Regions from separate parts of the Homo sapiens genome. Here region 1 is linked to region 2. The links are contacts of gene promoters, found by promoter capture Hi-C in blood cells and fetal thymus (Javierre and others, 2016). All regions are on one chromosome and are shown on one strand. The core of a region is centred on a gene start or on the middle of the fragment in contact, and the rest is flanking DNA. Distances in the headings are between cores, read along the strand shown.

Region 1 (6,488 bases), core at 3,688-6,187, 270 kb before region 2:
CGTACAGCCAAGCCACTCCATGGCAATGAGCTCCGAAGACAAAGTGCAAGAGAGAATGAGTGAGAGAGTGAGAGAGAGAGAAACAATAAAAAATGGGAAGAAATGTAAAAAGGAAGAAAGGAAGAGAGGTAATATATTAAGGAATAAATACATGCATGCAGATTTAAGACAGAGCCATGCTAGAACAGGAATGAAAGGCTGTGTGAACCAAGCAGACCGCTTAATTGGCACCAGTGCTGCTGGTATGGTCAATCACCTACTCAACTAAGGAACGGCTCAAAGCATACACATGGGAGGGAGGAGTGGGGCCACAGAGAGAGGGCCCATTAGTTGCAGATTACGATGTATCCAGTTAGGTGCACCTGCCTTCGAGAAGTGTAAAAATAAGTATTTACATAGAAAGAAAGACTGAATGGATGCACGGTGAATGCATGAATGATTGAACGACAGAAAAGATTTGCATTGACCGATGAGGAGGGCATTGTAGACAGGGATGAGGGTCATTGATCCTGGGTGCAGATCTCCAAAAGAATGACAGAAAGAAAGAGGGAGTGGTGGAAAGAAACAATAGGATGGGAAAAAATGAAAATAGAAAAAAGGAAGTGAAAGAGATAATAAATAATTAGATCAAATAAGTTGATGAAAGGGGACTGGTTTAGCACAAGCCATCCACATTAATTCAAACCTGTGGCTCTGAAGTTTGTTTTTTAAATGACCACAAGTGTAAGACTGAATGAAAGAATAAATGCGTGCATTCCATAGGATGCAAGAAAAGGAGTGAGGAATGGGAAAATTGGAAGAACGAGAGAGGGAGAGATGTAAGAAAAGAAAGGAAAAGTGAAGTAGGCATATGAAAGAAAAGGCACTTCTTGGACAAGCACTGAAATATAATGAGACAGTTTTACCCATTAAATATAATAAACAGTAAACGTTGAGGTTCATCAATAAAAGCACAGATACCTGAATAGAGGAGTGACCTGAATAGAATTCGTTCAGCCGAACGAATGAGAATGGATGATTTTCACTATCCTGTGCACTCAAGGCCCAAAAGAGAAAGCAAGAGAGGAGAGAATATGGAAACGTATGACAGGATGTATATAAGCAATACAAACATATTGAATGAATAAATAAAGACATAAATATGTGGGAGAGTGGACCACGCAAGGACAAAAAGAGGAGAGAAGGCAGCAAGAATTATGACTAATTCAAAACTGGGTTCCTGAGATAGTTAAATAAATCCTGCACCAAATCCCCAGGGGGAGAAATTAACAAACAAAAGACAGCCCCACACGGACCAGTGTGCAGAAGGCTCCAGGAACCGCAGATTATGGTTAATCCAATTCTGTGCACCTGAGGTCCATAAATAAAAGAATAAGTATTGAAATGAAAGAATGACAGAAAGAATGAATGGACACATGAACGACTGAATTAGAAATGGAAATGCCTGGCACAGCCAGGAAGGAGCTGCCCATGGGATTGTCATTCATCTCACTCTGGGCACCTGAGGTCCATAAGCGTGAAAAGAGGCAGGAAGAGAAGTGTCAGGGAGTCAAAGATAGAGCTAAGGAAAGGCAAAAATGAAACTAAATGAAAGCGAAAGGGAAAATAAAGAAAAACCAATAAAAAAGAGAACGAATACGTGGGTGTATCTGTAAGAGTAGGATCTGTTAGGATTAGTCATAAGACTGTCAGTAATCCTGAAGATGGATGAGATAATCCAGGCCCAGGTTCCCAGGGGGAGGGAAAATGGAGAAAATATAAAAAGATGTGAAAAAGGAAAAAGGAAAGGTAATAAACAAACAACCAAAGTGATAAATGGATAGTTAAGGGAGGTTGTCTGAACAGGGATTATAATTAGTTTACATACATACTCCTTAAACAGATAAATACATTACACCTTTCAAAGAATAAATGAAAAATAGAGAGACATACCTGGCTCCAAAACAAGGCTGTATCTTCTGCCACTGTAATAAAATAGATGCAATTGAGGTTCATAAATAAAAGAATAAATACTTAAACGTGAAAGGTGACTAAATGCGGGGAAGAAAGATTGCAAATAAATACATGGGCCAAAGATGTTTGGTTTGCCCATGGAGTTTTAATTAAAAAAATTAATAAGGAAAACAAATACCCAAAATAAGGAAGACTGACAAATGAGTGAGTGGATGAGAGAGTGAATGGTGCTTGACGTAGGAGCAGTAGTGCTTTAGGGACCAGCATGAAGGTGGTGACCGGGAGCCCTGATTCATGGGATTCTGTCCACCTGACTTTATAAGAACCAAGAATGGCTGGGAATGGTGGCTCACGCCTGTAATCCCAGCACTTTGGGAGGCCGAGGTGGGCGGATCATGAGGTCAGGAGTTTGAGACCAGCCAGTTTGAGATCAGCCTGGCCAACATGGTGAAATTCCATCTCTACTAAAAAAATACAAAAATTATGGGCGTGGTGGCACCTGTCTGTAATCCTAGCTACTCGGGAGGCTGAGAGAGGAGAATTGCTTGAACCCGGGAGGTGGAGGTTGTAGTGAGCCAAGATTGCACCACTGCACTCCAGCCTGGGCTACAGAGCAAGACACTATCTTAGATCAAAAAAGAAAAAAAAAAAAAGAAGGAGAAAGAACCAGAGAAACATAAGGAAGAGTGAGAGGAAGAAAGAAAGATGCAATTTGGGAAGAAATGAAAAAGAAATGAATAAAGAATAAAATAATGTAACGGTCAATAAATAGGACTTGTGAATGGAGGCCTTTAGGCCAAAGGCTATGATTAATTTCAAGCTATGTTACTGAAGTCCATAAACAAAGGACTCAGATCTAAATGGATGAACGAATGACTGGAAGAAAGGGTGGTAGGAAGGTAGGAAGAAAGGAAGGAGGGAAAAAGGGAAGAGAGGAAGGAACCTTCTTTCCAGTCCTGTGTTCTAGACAGTGGAATGAAGTGGTCCCCAGGGAGGGTGGCTGTAGGCATGTCATGTGCTTGTCACATGCACTTGCCCTGGCAGGGAGGAGCTGGCTCAGGAAGACCCTGGTCTTGGGGTGCTGTTGCCCTATCTTGGCTGTGTGGGCCATTTCACTGCATCTGTCTCTTCCTCAGTTTCCCCATCTGTAAACCTGGAGTGGCACCAGCTGCCTACTAGAGTTGATCTTATGTGTCTCTGTTGATGGTACCCCATCTATGGCCTGGATAGGCAGGAAGGGCTTGGACCCTGAGCCCCGCAGAAGGTTGCATGAACGAGTGGTGTGAAGCCTGTTGGGTAGCTTGGCCACTCCCGCGGCATGGGTCACCTGCACAGGAGGTTTTGCCCACCAGGGGGCAGCAGAGGGTCAGGGAGCAATAGGCCCTGGGTGGAGCATGGGCCCCGCCTGCTGTGTGCCACCCTGGGTGTGGCACCTACTCACATCCAGGGGTTGGTGCAGGGAAAGGCCAGAAGGTGGCCAGGCGCACCTGAGAAGGGGGACCCAGAAGCCCCGGGACCCAGGAGCCCTGGGCAAGCCACCAGAAACCTTGTTCTTGCAACTCTCTGCAGTGTGCCCAGGCCACCCTCTGGCCTGGTCTTCCATGGGGCAGGGCGCCCACCCTTCTCAACTCAGGTTTCCCTGGGCAGCAGGTGCACCTCAGCACCCCTGGGGTTGCAGAAGTGGTCCGGGGACCCTGGCTTCCTTGACATGCCATCCCCAGAGCCTGGTTCAAGGCCTCTCTGTCTTCTCGGCTGTTTCACGACGTGTTTTGTAACTTGGCGGGATTGCGTTTCGCTGTGTCGAGGTTGTCTCTTCTCTGACTCGCCCTCCGGGGGACTGCCGGGGTAAATCTGGAGAGTTGCTCGTGCTGACAGTCCTCCCCCAGGGCCTCCCCGGTTCTGTTGAGTCTCCTTTCTCTGTAGTGGAGGAAATGTGTGTAGTTTTGTGTTGTGTGCCTGTGTTTGTCTGTAAAAGCAAGGACCAAAGTCTCCCTTGTTGACCTCTCAATTCCTATTTGGGACATATAAAAACACTGGATTCTTAACAAGCGCCCGGAGCAGTAGGAGCACAGCTTGGATGGACTCAGGACTTGTGGCAGGGAGCACGTGGGAGGCAGGGGAGTGGGGTGGGGCCAGGCCATCTGGAGTGGGAGGCGTCATGCTCAGAGTGACTCTGTAGACGCTGGGTGGGATGGGGAGTGCGGGCGCAGGCATGGATGGGGCTGTTAGCTAGTGTGATGCTTGAGGTCTGAGCTGATGGCAGCAAAGTGGGGTGCTCAGGAATCAAAGCTATGGGGTTATAGACAGGATATGAAGGAGGGAGGGAGGCAAGAAGAAGGGGGTGGTTCCCACGCTTCTAGCTCCGGCCGAGTGGATGGCAACAGCATTTGGAAGGCGGAGGACATGGAATTCATGTGTCAGGAGCCACCTTCCGAGCCTCCAGTACCACGTGTCAGGGCCACATGAGCTGGGCCTCGTGGGCCTGATGTGGTGCTGGGGCCTCAGGGGTCTGCTCTTCTTCTCTTTCAGAATCTGGGGCTCCAGGCTATGCCTTGGCTGGACTGAGGTCTGGGGGTGCACTTATTATCCCTGGGGACACCTGCTGAAGCTTCTCCCTGACAAGCTGTGTCACTGTTGGATGAGGATGGGGCGGGAGGGGTTCAGGGCAGAAGAAGACCGGGAGGGTCTTTCAAAAGAACTCATGTACGGCTGTTAAAAAAAGTCAGCAGAGGCTCAGGAAGACTTAAAGTGTGCAGAAGGCGGGGAAGGGAGGGCCCATTGCATGCACCAAGAGGAAATTGGAAGGAACAAGCGACGTTGGCTGCTAGGAGAGCCTGCTCCCAACATCTAGGGGCTGTCCTGACGGGTCACAGTGGGTCGAACTGAGCCAATGAGAGCAGCTCTGGGGAGACCCACTGGTGCCCTGGAGGCTGGGTGGGTTTGGGTTGGATGAATTCTGTGTGTCCTTTTGGAAATGTGGAGGCCATGAGGGGGGATCAGGGCTCTTAGGGTTTTGACCCTTAAGAGTTTTGTATCTGTAATTCAAAGGTTCTTTAGTTCTGGGATGCTGAGATTCGGGATAGGGTTCCTAATGGCACAAAAGCCAGAGATAAAACATCCTTCACGTGCTCCCTACCCGGTTCTTTCTGTACCAGACCCACAAGGTCCGAGTTGGGATCCTAGTGCTCCTGTCTGGTCAGGGCCTATCTTTATGTGTTCGTTAAACTTTTAACAATGAGAATTAATTCTGTCTCTTGACATTGTCATTTGCATGCTCCCCACACACAAATCCTTTCCTGGTGACACCAGGAGCTACAACTCTCCTTGGCCTCCTCTTGTGACTCCCAACTCCCTCCTTGGGAAGCTTGGCCTCAGGACCTCTGGGATAGACAGGCCACGAATCCTGCTGTGTCCCGTTGTGTTCCTAATATAAATGGTGTGGATGGCACTTGACCTAGAGCAGTGGGAAATGCATGCACCACTCAACATTCTGACATGTCACCCATTTTACATTCTTACAGGCATACTTTTTTTAAAAAAAGAGTGTCTATTCTTTAATGAGCATCCCTTCTTTAAAAAAACCTAATTGCCATTATTCACCACATACACTTTTTTTTTTTTGTATCCTGCCTCTTCTATTTAATTTTCTGTCATCAACATTTTCCCTTGTTCCATGAATCTTCATAACCTCACTTGCTGCGTTGTGCCTTGTTGAGTGGCTATGGCATCATTCACAGAACCATTCTGTTATTCTTATGTATAACCACCTTTTAAAAATATTATGAATAATGCCACAACTAACTGCTTAAAACACCCTTTTTTTCATTCTTAAGAATTATGTTCTTCCACCCAGAAATTATCATTGCTTCACTACAGATCAGTTTCCCCTGCTAGACTGTGAGCCCCATAAGGGCAAGGAGCTTATTGAATTGGCCTTTGTATCTCTGATGCCCAACATGTTGTAGACTATAAATAAATGATGAATGAGTGGATGGAAGAATGGAGGAAGGAGCGAGTGAGTGAGTGTTTGGCTGATGGATAAGAGGGTGGAAGGATAGGCGGAAGGATGGATTGGTGAATGAATGAATGAATTTCCTTTGGTTAAGTCTCTTGAAAGAAAGGCTATGGATCTTTGTATGGATGTTGAATAATTTCAGTAAGCTTACAGCATTTTACAATGTTCAGCAATGTATGACCACTTAATTAAGATATGGCTAGTTTGTCTCTGTTATAAAGTACTTTTGCATTACTTTAACTTGCATTGCTTTAATTACTAATGATGGGTGAACACTTTGACCTATGTTTGTTAACAAATTGTATTTTATCTTCTGTGAACTGTTTGTCCAAGTCCTTTGGGTCATGGCTTTCTGAAGAGACTGGTCCCAGATGTCCTTGGGATGTAGGGAGCCCATAGCTCACTGGAGGCATTCAAGGAACCAGCCAGGCAGCCCTCAGAGAAAGTAGTGTTTAGGAGATTCTCATGGTGTGGGGTTGGCCTAGGTGGCCTTTCAGGTCTGTTTGATGTTAGGATTTGC
Region 2 (7,408 bases), core at 2,228-4,727:
TCTGGGGAGGTTATTAAGCCTGAACTAAAGCCTTGACAGGTTGTGGTTCTAAAATTGCCAGCCAGTGAACAGGCCTGCTCTCCCACCCTCCCCCTTTCTCCCTATCTTCATGCATACCTCCCTGCATTCATATAATCACCCATCCATTCGTTCATCCACCCATGTGTCCATCATCCATCCATCTGTCCATCATCCATCCATCCAACTCTCCATGTGTCCATCCATCCACTCACCCATTCATCTGCTTCTCTCTCCCTTCCATCATTCCATTCATCCATTTTCCTTCCATATATCTACGTATTCTTCCATCCATCCATCCATCCATCCATCCAACCATCCATCCATCCATCCATCCACTTTTCCACCCATCCATCCATTCATTCATCCACCCATCCATGCATCCATCCATCCATCCATCCATGCACCTATCCATCCATCTCTCCATGTGTCCATCCATCCACCCACCCATTCATTTGCTTCTTTCTCCCTCCATCATTCCATTCATCCATTTTCCTTCCATATATCTGTATATTCTCCCATCCTTCCATCCACTTTTCTATTCGTCCATCCATCCATCCATCCATCCATCCATCCATCCACCCATCCATCCATCTCTCCATGTGTCCATCCATCCACCCACCCATTCATCTGCTTCTTTCTCCCTCTGTCATTCCATTCATCCTTTTCTCCTTCCATATATCTATATATTCCTCCATCTGTCAATCCACTTTTCCATACATCCTTATGCCCATCCATCCATCCATTCATCTCCCCATTTATCCACCTCCCTCCATCTCTCCTTCCAGCACTCACAAACACTGCCTTCATGTTTGGCACAGGGAACCCAGACTTAGATCCATCCCCCACTGGAGCCTGGACAGCCATAGGACATAGGCCTCAACTAAATGTGAAACTTCAGAATGGGGAGTGGGTGTGGGGGAACCCACAGGGGTTCAGAGAGGAACTTTAGCACTAGCCAGGGAAGGGCTATGGTCCTAGAAGAGTTAACTCCACTCTTCTGGCAGCTACCCAAAGAGCTAGAGAATCTGAGCATGTCCCTCCTCCCCCATCCCTGGCCCACCTTGGCATCTTTCTGCTCTGCTGAGGCGAAAGCCGCCTTCACTCTGCAATTTAATCCCAGTTCCCATAGCTCTGCAAGTTTCCTAGACTCGAAGACAAAGATAAAAACATCATAATAACCACAGTGAGACAAAAAATAATAATCCCAGTGCTGAAAAAAATGAGATGCTGTCGCTTACATCTTGATAAACTGTAAAATTTATCTTTTTGTGCCGATCTTCCCTTCTCTATTTCATTTACAGTGGATTTTTAATAAAAAAAAGTTGATAAAAATCAAAGCAACATAATCAAAATAGAAAAGTTTGACATTTATAGATGTTGTTTATTACTATAGTGTTTTAAGGTATTAAAAAGGCACACCAAAATTAGTTTCTTATCAAATGTCAAATTTTCATCAAGTTCTCGCCTACAAACTATTTCAACTTTGTTCTTTGGAACAGAGTTGAGTGTCTCCATGAGCACGTGGGGGAGAGTCCCTGAGGACTTGCAGTGTTGTTTCTCCCCGCATCATCACTCCACTAAAAGAATTAACATGACGTGTTGTCTTCCTAATAAGCTTTAAGAAGGAGTTTGCTTTTCTTGTTCTTTTTCCCCTGCTTTAGAGGCAGATGTGTTGCTGTTTGTGTATCTTATACACTAGAAGGAAACTGCAATGGTGGAAAGGTCTCCTGACCTTGGCCCAGTCCAGAACTGTCCCAAATGACCCCATCTTGACTCCGAACGAGCCCATCCCTTCCGCATGTACAGCTGTGCAAAGAAAGACGCTGTCTCCGTGGAGCCAACAGCAGCCCTGGGCGGTACCAGGGGCAGGGTCTCAGGTTGGAGTTTAATTGCTTGGAACAGAGATCAGCTTTAATCAGCTTGAGCAAGGAGGGAGGAGGCCCTAGACAAAGACCAGGCCCGGGGGGCACAGTGAACATGGGGTGTCTGGGAGCCAAGAGCGAGCCCCAGGAGCGTGAAGACAGTCGGGCGTGGCCAGGATGTGACGGGGCTGGGCTTTCCCTTCTTAGAGATGAGGGCTGGATCGCCGGGAGGGGCCAGCTCCAAGGCAGGAGGCCAGGGCTGCCATCCTTCTCGAACATATCCATGGACACCATGAAGGTGTGGTCAGGGGCAGAGCTGGGCAGTCGGAGGAGCTAGGGTTTGCATCCATCGTGTACCACTCCACGTGTGTCCTGACCAGATCACTTTCCCGGCTGAGTCTTAGTTTCCCAATTACCTGAACTCCCTCGGCCTCAGTTTTCTCATCTGTCAAATGAACAGAATGATTCTTTTGCCTGAAAGGGGAGCAAGCACTGGGTATTCATTCTTCCTGCACCTCGGATCTCCTCTAGTTTGGGGATCTGCGAGCCCGTGGTTGAGCGGGATATGAACTCAGGCTCCTGCCCCCAAAGGAGTCTTTCTCCTCCTCCCCCCACCTCCTGCTTTCCTGTCCTGCTCGGCAGGCAGCCTCGGGTTGCAGAGGTGAGTCCTGCTTTTCTCCCTCCCACACCGTGCTTTCCCTTAACTCCCCAGCCCCAGGGAGAGGCAGCATTCTACATTTCAGAACCTTCTGAAGGGGGTTGTGTCCTTCTTCCAGAGCTAACTCTCTTGAGAGTGCTCTGAGCTGGACAGCTGGTGGGTGGAAGACAGGCAAGACAGCGATGCCAAGAGACACAGCATTTCCAGATGATTAGAGGAAAAGAAGCAAAGGATGTTGCTCGTCTCAGAAAAATCAGTGCAAACAGCCGTCAGGGAAATAGCTTCCCATGAAAGTCCCACGAATGAAAAACAAGAGGAACGAGGCGTCCACTGATCCCAGAACAGACAGGAGGAGCATGGCAGAGACAATTAGGATCTATTAGCCCTGCCCCTCTTCTAAACAGCCACCGGGGGACAGCCTGTGCTGGGCCCAAGAACACAGCGATGGCCAGACGGGCCCTGACCCTGCGTGACCATCCCGTGCGGCTCAGGGAGACAGTACTCAAAGCTCAGGGGACCGGCAGGTGCGTGACATCCAGGAGGGAAAGCCATGCACTGCGGAGGTTTAAAGAAGGCGGGAATAAACTCTGCGACTTTTGGTTTAGAAAACACACTGTATTCAGAGGCAGCCAGAGATGATTTATAACATGCCATATTAGGGAACTTATAATAGCATCTAACAAGCAAAACCTCCGCATTTCAGTGGCTTCATGTAACACCGTTAATTCTTGCTTCCTGAACAGCTCCATGTGGTGCTTCTGGTGGGCAGGTGGCCCTCTTCCTGGCTGACTCAGGGACCCCTGTGGCTCTGCTGTTCAGGGAGAGTCAGAGCCCTCTGTGTGCAGCTGGCAAAGAAGGAAAGTGGCCAGGGGGATGGCCCAGCCCTATCTCAGAAACCTCAGCCCGGAAGTGGCCCACTTCCCTTCCACTCACAGTCTTTTTGAGAAGAAGCTTGTGCCTGTGCCTGGAAGCAAGGAGGGCTGGAACTGGGGCCCTGCTGGGAAGCCCTGTATCTGCAGAACTGTGTCCCGTGGGGGCCAGGGGACACAGATTTTTGCAGCCCTCTGATGCTGAAGCCTTTCTGGGGCTGGGATGACCCAATGCCCACCTGGACCGTGCACTTCCTGGTGACCCTCTGAGACAACTTCCTGGGCAGAGTTGATCATCATGGAGTCAGTGCAAGTCTGGGAACAGTGGCCTGAAACTGCGCAGCTCCAGTGTGTCGGTGAGCGCCGTCCTCCCAGGGCTCAGGGGAGGGCAGATGAGAAACCAGAAGATCCGCAGAGCAGGAGGCTCCACCGGAGGCCCGAGCCAGGGCCACCCAGAGGAACGGGCCCTGGCTGGGGACAGAAGCCTGCTGGTGTGCTCACTGCGTTTCCTTCCCCTTTGTCCCCCAGCTTTTAAACGGGTTTGAGGAAGTCTCAGGGCTACGTCAGCTGTGCTAGGGGAGCCAACGAGGGCAACTGGGCTGAAGCGAGCAGTGAATCCGAGAGGAAGTTCAGGACAAGGGGCCCTCCGTGTGGCTGAACAGGGATCCCTCCCTGGCTGCCCTTCAGTTGGGCCCTTCTCTCTGAGCTCTTCTCCACGAGACTCCACCACGGCCTGCTGAACTCAATTTTAGCAGAGAATCCTAAGTGAGCTGATTGAGAATCCCCTCCCCTTGACAAATGATTGAATTCCACGTCATCATTTTCCATCCACAGCCCCTCCCTTTGCCCATGGGCTGTCAATCCCCAGGTGTCCCCACTGTGTTCAGAACTGAGTCCATCTCTGTCCCTGCTGTAATACTCTTGAGTCAAGTCTTCCTCACCATTTGTAGCTGGTCCGGGGCACCCCACCGAGAGTAGGAGACAATTCTTCCCATCTAGAACATTCCTTCCAGGCTCAGGACCACTCTTGCCTGCTGGGGGATAGGGGCTGCCAAGAGGGGCTTTTCCAACATGGGCAGTGGTATGGGAGCTTGGGCCGACCGTGGCGGACTGGAGGGCAGGCATTTTGGGTGGGAACGGTGCTCACCTAAGGCTCCTTCTGCCAAGCCCCTTCTGGCCTCTGCCAGGACGGGATGTGACAGAGTGCATCTGTGCCCGGCTGCTCAGGGCAGAGTGGGGCAGGGCAGCGTCCCTGGGGAGCAGAACCCCAGGCCTCCGCATGAGAGTGCTTCAGGGGCACCCGGGCACCCTTCTTTGAAGGTTCTTTCTGTTTTTAAGCCTCTTTTAAGCTGCCCAAGTGCCAGCTGAGGCTATTTTGGGATCAGCCATTCATCCCAGGGCTGTCTGGCCCTTCTGAAAACTCTCATTAAATTGTTCATCGACAGGAACCAAATACTTGGCCCCAGGGCCTCCAGGCCTCCCCCGATGTGTGGCCTCCTGGGGTCCTTGCCCGAGAGGCTGAGGGGGAACCTGGCTGGCCACCAAGGCCTTGTAAGTATCTTCTCCCTCAGAAATCCAAGTCTGTCTTCCAAAACACCCCCACCCCCGCCACTGAGTTCATGAATATTCCCTCTGTGGACACACAATTCGAACTTGCGCGCACACGGCCCACCCACCACCTGAGGGAGGGACGGCTTCCAGTAAGTAATTACTCAACACAGCGATCCCAGGACACGACCTCGGAATGGGAGAGCGGAGGCCTTTGTTGGTTCAGAGCGAAGTGGGGTGTTCCCAGGACTGGAGAACTCAGGTGGCCCCTCTAGCAGCTCTGCCTCCTTGGGATCCCATGAGCTCGGCCTCTCAAGCACAAGTGTTATCCAGAAATCTCTGGAATAGGATGAGAGATGATGAGAGGTCATTCCAGGGCTTTCCTCCCCGAGACCCTGGAAGGGCCCAAGGGAGCCTGCGGTGGGACTGGGCCCTAGATAGATCAAGGCCAGCACTGGGACGGGGTGGGCCTGTCCTCAGGAGGCCTCCAGGGCTGCTCACCTGTCAGCACCCCTGGCCTCTCTCTGAAGCTCTCATGCCCTGATCTTCCAGGTGGAGGCCCTTCAGTGAGGAGTCCCCCAGTCTGGGTGGAGAGCCAGCCCGATCGGCTTGATTCCTCCACTCTTGACACCGTGAGCCTCAGATTCTGAGAGCTTGGGAGGATGGACAGAGACTGCGGTCAGCAGGAGAATGGGAAGCAGATGGGAGAGGAAGAAGCTTGCCTTTGGTGGGGACCAGGAGGCTGGGAGCCCAGGCCCATTCACTGTAACATGTGCAGTAAATCCCATTATATTCATGCAAAGAATTCTACACAGCAAGGAAAAGGAAAGAGCTGTTGGCATGCCACAACACAGGTGGATCTCACAGACCTACTGCTGAGCTAAAGAAGGCAACCACGCACATGTACATGCTGCATGGGGCCGTTTCTATCTGCCCAGAACCAGGCAAGAACCATCTATGCCAACAGCTTCATTGCTGCTGTTTCTGGGGTTGTTGACTGGAGGGGCGAGGGGACCCTCTCGGATGTGGAAATGTTCTGTGATGAGATAGAGGTTTCCTGCATGTCTGTGCCTGTGAGATGCATCCAGCTGCACACTTCAGATGCGTGCATTTTATTGCATATGTTATGCCTTGATTTTTAAAAGTCTTTAAATATTTAATCCTGAACATCCCTACGAAACAAATAATAAAACAGCCCTAGGCTCCTGATGTCTTGCCCAGGTCACCTACCACCCTCAGGCCTCTCTAGGAGTCAACATCTGGATGCTGATGCCTGCTTCCCCCTCCATACCTCACAGCCATCACCCAAGAGGGGGCTGTAAGACGTCTCTCTGGCCGGCACTGGAGCCAGCTTTGAGCTGCCCGAGCCTGCTTCCTACGCAGGGTGCTTTAAATCTTCCGGATCACTGAGCCTTCATTTCAGAATGCTTTATTGCTCATCTTCCTACCACGCAGGGCTGCTGCCTGTGTCAGCTCGCACCGAGGGAGGAAAATAATTATACCCCACAGCGTCAGTTACATCGAAGGGTAGAGAGGCACCAGGCGCCTTCCCCTTCAGGATGCGCAGAGCCAAGGGGGTTTCCAATCCTGCTCCTTGCTGACCAGGGCCTCTGCATCATGACACTGACCGTCCCACACATCTGGCTGCCGCCTCCTCGCTATTACCTCATGTCTTCCTCTGCAGGCTCCCAGACTGGGGTCCTAAGATCTGGAGATGCTGCCTGCAGGTCAGGATCCAAGGGGAGTTTGGATATGACTGTGGCCCAGACAGAGCTCAGAGTCTACAAAAGCCCCACAGAGCCCACCTGTGACTTGTGACTAGGCAATGAGGTTATGCCGGCCTCACGTCCTCTGAATGCTATTGTGCCTGAGCCCCTGGGCTGCCTCCTATCCTCCTGCTCTGGACTTTGCCTCCCGATGCCCTGCCCTAGATGTTTCTGTTGGGGGACTCCAGAGGGCTGGTGAGAACTGGGGGGTCCCTGTAGGGTGGAGAGGGTCAGAAGTCACCTATCAGTGTGGCAGACATGGCTGGTCCCAGAGCCCGGGGCTCCTGCTCTAATGGGAGGACCCCAGTGAAAGCACCCACCTGCTTCTGGCAGGGTAGCTTAACCCCCATTCCAATAGAACCTCTAGAGAATCTAATAGCCCCATCCCTATGGGCCTCTGCACAGCTCCCAATCCAGCCCCAGTCCCCTTTATGTCCCCACCACAGCCTCGTCCTGGATGACAGACGGTGGGAAGGGTTGTTACTGTCAGGACAGATGCAGTCACCATTTTCTGCAGCAAGGATCCTTAGTCATAAGTAATATTGTGCGTGGGACACCAACAGCCCAGCCCAAGAAGCATTGGTCAAACTGGGCCCAGGGAAAACCTTCCAGGATGAGCTGAAGAGAAGGTCAGCCTGCTCATCTGGATGGACATGCTGCAGCCTCAGCCCCTGGCCACCTGGG

The links. The method cuts DNA at HindIII sites, captures the fragments that hold promoters and counts their contacts. A CHiCAGO score of 5 or more calls a contact.
Region 1: a contact is called between a fragment that was not itself captured here and the fragment with the promoter of LINC02285 in region 2, in 1 of 17 cell types (M1 macrophages). The highest score is 5.5, in M1 macrophages.

What each region holds. Positions count from the first base shown.
Region 1 is chr14:100,848,018-100,854,505 of GRCh38, forward strand. The region is part of intron 9 of MEG3 (maternally expressed 3); the gene reads left to right. MIR770 (microRNA 770) reads left to right here and starts at 4,373; the gene lies at 4,373-4,470. The HindIII fragment of the contact is 756 bases long and covers 4,560-5,315 here.
Region 2 is chr14:101,117,379-101,124,786 of GRCh38, forward strand. It overlaps LINC02285 (long intergenic non-protein coding RNA 2285), which reads left to right and starts at 3,478. Exons shown (of 2, transcript NR_146490.1): 1 at 3,478-3,766; 2 at 5,511-6,167. LOC124903386 (a long non-coding RNA gene) reads right to left here and starts at 3,918. Exons shown (of 2, transcript XR_007064341.1): 1 at 3,650-3,918; 2 at 3,136-3,386. The HindIII fragment of the contact is 1,856 bases long and covers 1,635-3,490 here.